Linked DNA regions of Homo sapiens: region 2 is linked to region 1. The links are contacts of gene promoters, found by promoter capture Hi-C in human tissues and cell types (Jung and others, 2019). All regions are on one chromosome and are shown on one strand. Each heading gives the region's core, a stretch centred on a gene start or on the middle of the fragment in contact. The rest is flanking DNA. Distances are from core to core; before and after follow the strand shown. Region 1 holds the start of TEAD3 (TEA domain transcription factor 3). Region 2 overlaps STK38 (serine/threonine kinase 38).

Evidence for each region. The method cuts DNA at HindIII sites, captures the fragments that hold promoters and counts their contacts. A contact is called where the count stands out against the background at its distance.
Region 2: a fragment that was not itself captured here is called in contact with the fragment with the promoter of TEAD3 in region 1 in 1 of the 25 tissues and cell types used here (dorsolateral prefrontal cortex).

The regions. Positions count from the first base shown.
Region 1 is chr6:35,495,098-35,498,328 of GRCh38, forward strand. TEAD3 (TEA domain transcription factor 3) reads right to left here and starts at 1,982. Exons shown (of 13, transcript NM_003214.4): 1 at 1,801-1,982. It overlaps TULP1 (TUB like protein 1), which reads right to left. Exons shown (of 15, transcript NM_003322.6): 15 at 2,777-3,231. The coding sequence ends at 3,230. LOC124901309 (a long non-coding RNA gene) reads left to right here and starts at 3,036. Exons shown (of 2, transcript XR_007059561.1): 1 at 3,036-3,110. RefSeq lists enhancers at 226-1,011, 1,958-2,888, 2,889-3,231 and silencers at 1,790-1,839, 2,020-2,149, 2,160-2,489. The HindIII fragment of the contact is 31,199 bases long and covers 1-3,231 here.
Region 2 is chr6:36,522,087-36,525,317 of GRCh38, forward strand. It overlaps STK38 (serine/threonine kinase 38), which reads right to left. Exons shown (of 14, transcript NM_007271.4): 4 at 2,255-2,377. It also overlaps the pseudogene RN7SL748P. Among named protein-coding and RNA genes, the nearest start is that of STK38, 24 kb to the right of the region's middle. The HindIII fragment of the contact is 7,855 bases long and covers 1-3,231 here.

The DNA.
Region 1 (3,231 bases), core at 732-3,231:
TGAGGCCCAAAGGGGCCTGCCAAGATGGCGCAACTGGTTAAAGGTCCGGAGGGGACCAGATCCCTATTTCTTGACCACCTCTGTTGAGATATCTTCTCCTTTGATATTGTTGAGAATATCAAATCCTCCCGGTTTTAACATTCCTTCAGTTGGCAGAAAGTGCCAGGGTCTACAAACCTTTGGGTGAGGATGGGAGCAGGGCTCAGGACCCATGTGATGCTTCTGTACACTTAATGTGCTGCTCTGTCCTGGCAACCACTGACCACTCTAACAAGCCATTCCCCAGCCCAGATGCGCTCATTAGCATTAATGACGTTCCCTCCCTGGGGGGGTAGGGGAAGGCCCAAGAGCTTGGGACTCATACTGGCTCCTACCCTCTCCCTGAGGAGGGGGCATCCAGGGCCCCTGAAGTTACCCTTACTGGACAGCCTTGTCCTGGAAGATCTGTGCACTCTGCCCACTGGGTGAGCAGGGACCCAGAAGACCACAGAACCACATCCTTTAGGGAGTGCCCCTACGAGAGGGGTCTTGGTGGGAGGGGGGCTACAGGAGTCTAGAAGGGAGAGGACATAATTCCCCCAAATCTCCAACTTTTGAGGAAAGCCTCCCCTCCTTGCCCCAGGTGGCCCCAGCACTGGGGTGGAACATGTGTACAGAGAACCAGGCCACAAGAGACTGGATACGCAGAGCCGCTATGGGCACCAGCCCCTCTGAGCTGTGTCCAGCCCCTACCCCTATGCCCTGTTCTTCCGGACAACAAGTCCAGGCCTGACCTGGTTCTGCCCCTACCTGGAAAGAGGGAAGACACAGAAGAAGACAGCCCCTGAGAAGTCCGCCCCAAGGCCTCCTTCCCCCTCGCACTGAAAGAATCTCTCAGCCCTGGATCAGGGCCCCTCACCAGGAAAGTTGACAGAGCGGGGTCTCAATGACACTGCCCCAGGGCCCAGCTGGGCTGGAAAACAGATCCAGACCAGCGCTCCCAGCCCTCCCTCCCCTAGCAGGAATAAAGGGCATGACAGACAATGGTGGGGACCGGGGTAGGAAGCGGGAGACCAGCCACCCTCAAACCTTGTCAAGTCTAAACAAGGGCCCTGAGCAAGTGTGGGGAAGAAAAGGCCCCAAATCCAGACCCCTCCGAGCCAAGCTCACAGCGCTCAGGGCTGGAACTCTGAATCAGCACCCCGACGCAGGCGGCAGAACTGAAGGGAACGTGAGCCCCTCCCTGCCTCTCAGGGGACACACGGCCGGGGCGCGCGGCTTTGGTCCCAGACACCCTCCACAACCCAGCGCAGCCGCGGCACCGCGCGCAGAAACCGGCCTGGGCGCTGGGAGGCCGGGCCCGAGGCCTGCGTGGAGCTGAGGCCGGGCGGGCTCCGGGAGCGCGCGGGCCGGGAGTCCAAAGGGCGGCGGGGCCCGGGACTGGGCGCCCCGGATATGAGCTCCAGGGTGGCAGGCAGGCCCTCCACACTGTGCGGCCCCCGGATCCCCGCCCCGACCCCCCAAGCACGGACGGCGGGACAGGCGACGGCACAGGGGACACGGTCTCCCCGGCTTCCCCACCTTCCCGGACCAACTCGTCCCCGTCGCGGGGGGGTGGGGAGGGCGGGGGGCGGGGCTTCCCGGAGAGATTTTCCCCCTTCCCTCTAAACTTCCCGGCACCCCGATCCGGGGCTCCAGCTCCGGCTGGACAATAGCTCGGGGACCCAGTCCCCCTCGAGTGTCGCCCCCCCAGCCAGCCCAGCCGACCAACCAAACCACCTCTCCCGAGCGGGGCCTCCTCCCGGCGTCCGCCCGGCTTACCTGGTCCGAGCTCGCGGGGGCGCTCCGGCCGGGCCGCTCCGCCGGGCCCGAGGGAGCCGCAAGGGGGGCCGGGGAAGGGGGGTCGTGGGGAGGGGGCTGGCCGGAATGTGCGGAATGAGCCGGGCTGGAGCGGGAGGCGCCGAGCGCGGAGGAGGGAGCGAGCGGGACGGAAAGTTTGTGTTGAGGAGCCGGGGCGGGGGTGGGGGCTGCGGGAAGGAGGGGGCGGGGCGCGCAGGGGGCGGTGCTGGCCGGGAGGGGCGGGGCCGTCCAGCCGCGCTCGGGCCGCCTACCCCGCGGCCTCGCGACCCGGCCACCCCGGCTGGCGCGCGCCTGGGCGCCCCGCTCCTCGCCCGCCCGTGCGGAGCTGCCTTCCTCCCCCTGCGCTCCGGGCCTCGCCCCGCTCCCGGGCACCCGCCGGAATTTGGGGCTCCGGCCTGGGGCGGGGCCGAGGGCGGAGCCCTCGCCTCGCGGGCAGGGCTCCCGTCGGTGCCGGGGGCCGTGGGTGCCGCGTCACGAGGAGCCCGGCAGAGCCGGAGCGCACGGGCCCCGGGGCTCCCGGCCCCTCCACCCTAGTCCCGAGCCGCCAAGGCGGAGCGTACCCTCCAGCTCGCGGGCCTGCCCCCCACTCCCGGGGCCCCAGACCCGGCTCCGCCCTGGCGGCTGCGCCCGCCCTGCCGGGACCCGGTTTGTCTGGTTCTCCCCGCGTGGCTAGTTTCTCGAATTTCTTCTCCCTTTCTCCCTCTTCCCCGACCTCCGGGACCCTCCCTTTCGCCCCGGCTCCCCGGGCCCCCACGGGGGGCGTCTCGACGCTGTGCGGCCGCCGAGTTTCGGTAGGACCCGCGACGGGCGCGGGGAGGGGACGCGGGAGCGCCCGGGGCCTGGGCAGGAGTGGGACGGGGGTTGAGACTTCCAGCTCGCGCCTCGGACGCCTCCTGCCGCCTCGTTCTCCGCACGCGCTGAGGAACCACCGCTCCGCTTGGCCAAGGACGCGGCTTTATTGGGGATGTGGGTGCCTGGCCCTCGTCCCCCATCACCTACCCCCTCCTCCTAGCCCGCCCCAGCTCCTCGGAGCCCTAGCGCGGTCCCGGGGAGAGGGGAGGTTAAAACAACAATGACTACTGCTCCCGGACAGGAAGTGACTGGGGCGCGGGGAGGAGGGGGGCACAGCGGCGCAGGCGAGCTCCGAGACCAGATGTGCGGCTCCAACTCCAGATGTTCTTCATCTCCGTCCTACCCGCCGTCCGGGCTCCTCCTGCCTCGGCCTGTGCCAGGCTGGGGAGAGGACGGAGGTCACCGAGAGGCAGTGAGAGGTCAGCCCCGACACAGGAGCAGTTTTCCGCGGGAGCTTTGCTGGAGGGACCCTGCCAGCCTCCACTGAATCCTTTCCCCCACGCTGACGGGCTCTGGGGGCGCTGAGGGGCTGCTGGGGTC
Region 2 (3,231 bases), core at 532-3,031, 1.0 Mb after region 1:
CAATTTCAAATTTAAGGACTCGTTACACCTCTGACACATGTCATCCAGTCAGCTCAGAAAATCTAAGTAAATGATTACAATGATGTTTAATTAAAACAAAAGTAGCTGTGCATGGTGGTGTATACCTGTAGTCCCAGCTATTTGGGAGGTTGAGGTAGGAGGATCGCTTGAGCTCAGGAGTTATGAGCTATGGTGCATTATGCTGATCAGGTGTCTGAACTAAGTTCAGCATAATATGGTGACCTCCCAGGAGCAGGGTGGCAGAGGGGGGGCCCACCAGGTTGCCTAAGGAAGGGCAAACAGGCCCAGTTCAGAAATGGAGCAGGTCAAAACTCCCATGCCAATCAGTAGTGAGATCGTGCCTGTAAACAGCCACTGCACTCCAGCCTGGGCAACACAGTGAAACCTTGTCACTTAATCATAATAATAATAACAAAGTAAAACTTCATGCTTAGGAAAAACGTCTGGAAAGAAAAACAAAAAATTCAGGCCAGGCGCGGTAGCTCACACCTATAATCTCAGCACTTTGGAAGGCCGAAGCAGGTGGATCACCTGAGGTCCAGGAGTTCGAGACCAGCCTGGCCAACCTGGTGAAACCCCGTCTACTAAAAATACGAAAATTAGCTGGGTGTGGTGGCAGGTGCCTGTAATCCCAGTTATTCGGGAGGCTAAGGCAGTAGAATCACTTGAACCCGAGAGGCGGAGGTTGCAGTGAGCCAAGATCAAGCCATTGCACTCCAGCCTGGGCAACAGAGCAAGACTCTGTCTCAAAAAAAAAAAAAAAAAAAAAAAGAAGAAGAAGAAAATTCAAAATGTGTAATTAGGGAAATTGTGTTTTATGTAGTTTTCCTTCTCTTTTATGTTTTCCAATGTTCTTAAAGAAAACAGATAATTTTATGAAGAAAATTTACAACCAAAAGAAAAATTTCACTGCAAGTTCCTGCATGTCCTCCCCTCTTCTCCCAAAATAAGTAGGTTTTCTTCTCCCTGAACCTTTCTTCATGTTTTTCCTAATTGAGTACCACAACCCTTCCTTGCCAAACAGAAAGCTCTTTCAGAGGTGGTACTATACTTTTCCCTCTTTCAAGAAGCCAATAGGAATTCTGAACACTGAGGGATCAATCTATCACCTGTGCCTCTGAATACTATTCACATTTCCCCGGGGTACCAGGTTTTTTGTTTTTTTTTTTTTTTGAGATGGAGTCTTGCTCTGTCACCCAGGCTGGAGTGCAATGGTGCAATCTCGGCTCACTGCAACCTCTGCCTCCTGGGTTCAAGCAATTCTCCTGCCTCAGCCTCCTGAGTAGCTGGGATTACAGGCACGTGCCACCACACCCGGCTAATTTTTCTATTTTTAGTAGAGACAAGGTTTCACCATGTTGTCAGGCTGGTCTCGAACTCCTGACCTTGTGATCCGCCCGCCTTGGCCTCCCAAAGTGCTGAGATTACAGGAGTGAGCCACCGTGCCTGGCCCCGGGGTACCAGGTTTTAATAATATACTGCTCCTTTTATACTTGCAATTATTGCGTCAGTAGGTCATCCAGTTTGGGCATTTTTCATTAACAGGAATGACCTTGCATGGGCTCTTTCAAGCTCTCCCCAACAGATTGCTCTTGTGCCCAAGCAGGATCATTTCCAAGAATTGCGGGGACAAAGTCGCAAATGCTTTCAACTCTCCACCACTACCTATATAACTCCTTTCTGTAAATCCTCCCTCCTAGGGTCATCTTTTTAGAGCTGTATCAATCTGGTGGGGAGAAATAAAGGGTGGAGATACACTATTAGTTTCCTTCTCGAGAGGCAGTGCAGTACTGGGAAAAGCAAGCTCTTTGAGTTCAGGAAGTAGAGCCCAACTTTTGGTCCCAGTACTCAATGGCTGTGTGATAACAAGAGACATTATATATACCTTTAGAGTCTTAATTTCACCATCTATAAAATGGGTTACTGTCCTGATTATGGGAAAAAAGCAGCCTGTAAATAATAAATGTTGATTTCCTTCTACCTTTCAACTCTCCCCCTAAGTCAATATTTAAACACCAACACCATCTCTGGCAAAACAGAGAACAGAGATCTGGGACTGCGGAGAGAAGAAAAAGAGAAAGCAGACAGACAAAGCAATTAGGATGTGGGGCTGGCATGCCTGACTCATTTAATTCCATATATTTGTTATATCAACAATCATGACTTAATGGTATGTTAGAAGCTTTGAAGTTTTGCAATATTTTTCTACTTGACAAGTAGCTGTGATTTTTACCTCACCAAATGCTCCTCTGCCTATTACTTTTAAGGACTCAAAATCTTCCAATCCAAGTCTTGTTCTCTTCAAACGAAGAAACTCTGTTTCCTTCCGAGCATGTGCTGATCTCCGGAGTCGTTTCTAATATTTAAATAAAAAAGGGAGGAGACGGGAAGGAACTGAAATTCTGAAACTCTGTAACAAGTCATGTTTGTGACTTACCCAGCTAGAAAACAGGTCCAAGTGGACTAAGGATAATCTTTTCACATATGAAATCACCCCAGAAGGATCCTTAAGAGGTCACTTCTCCCTTTCCTGGCATTTAGACACAACATCCAAGCCACACTGAACAGATGGGTGCCTCCTCTGGGAACTCTGACTAACCTACTTCAGCAATCCACTATCCTAACATTTTTGGTGAAGGGAGGGATAAATAATCAACAATATTTTCCTTTATCCTGTTTAATATAAATTAAAAATGTGTTCTTATCTTTCCCTCTGGCTTAAACACTGTATACTCTAACTTTCTGTTATTTCTACAAGTATTGGGTATTTTTCACCACCGTCCTGGGTTCTGCAAGCCAGTCCTATTTTTGAAGGCATTTCCACTACCATTTCAGTTCCTTGCACAGTCCCTTGTTAACTATATTTTCTCCTACTGTATCTGTGGGCACTGGGTGGAAGGGCTGATTTGAGATGGATATTTTGCCTTAATAAAGATTTCAGGAACATGACACACCGGGGCCTGTCGGGGCATGGGGGGAAAGGGAGGGAGAGCATTAGGACAAATACCTCATGCATGCGGAGCTTAAAACCTAGATGACAGGTTGATAGGTGCAGCAAACCACTATGGCACATATATACCTATGTAATAAACCTGCATGTTCAGCACACGTATGTATCCCAGAAAAAGTAAAATAAATAAATATTTCAAAAATTTGCCCTACTCCTACGGAGACTTTTCAGTGAATTCTATAAAAATGCTACAACTTGCT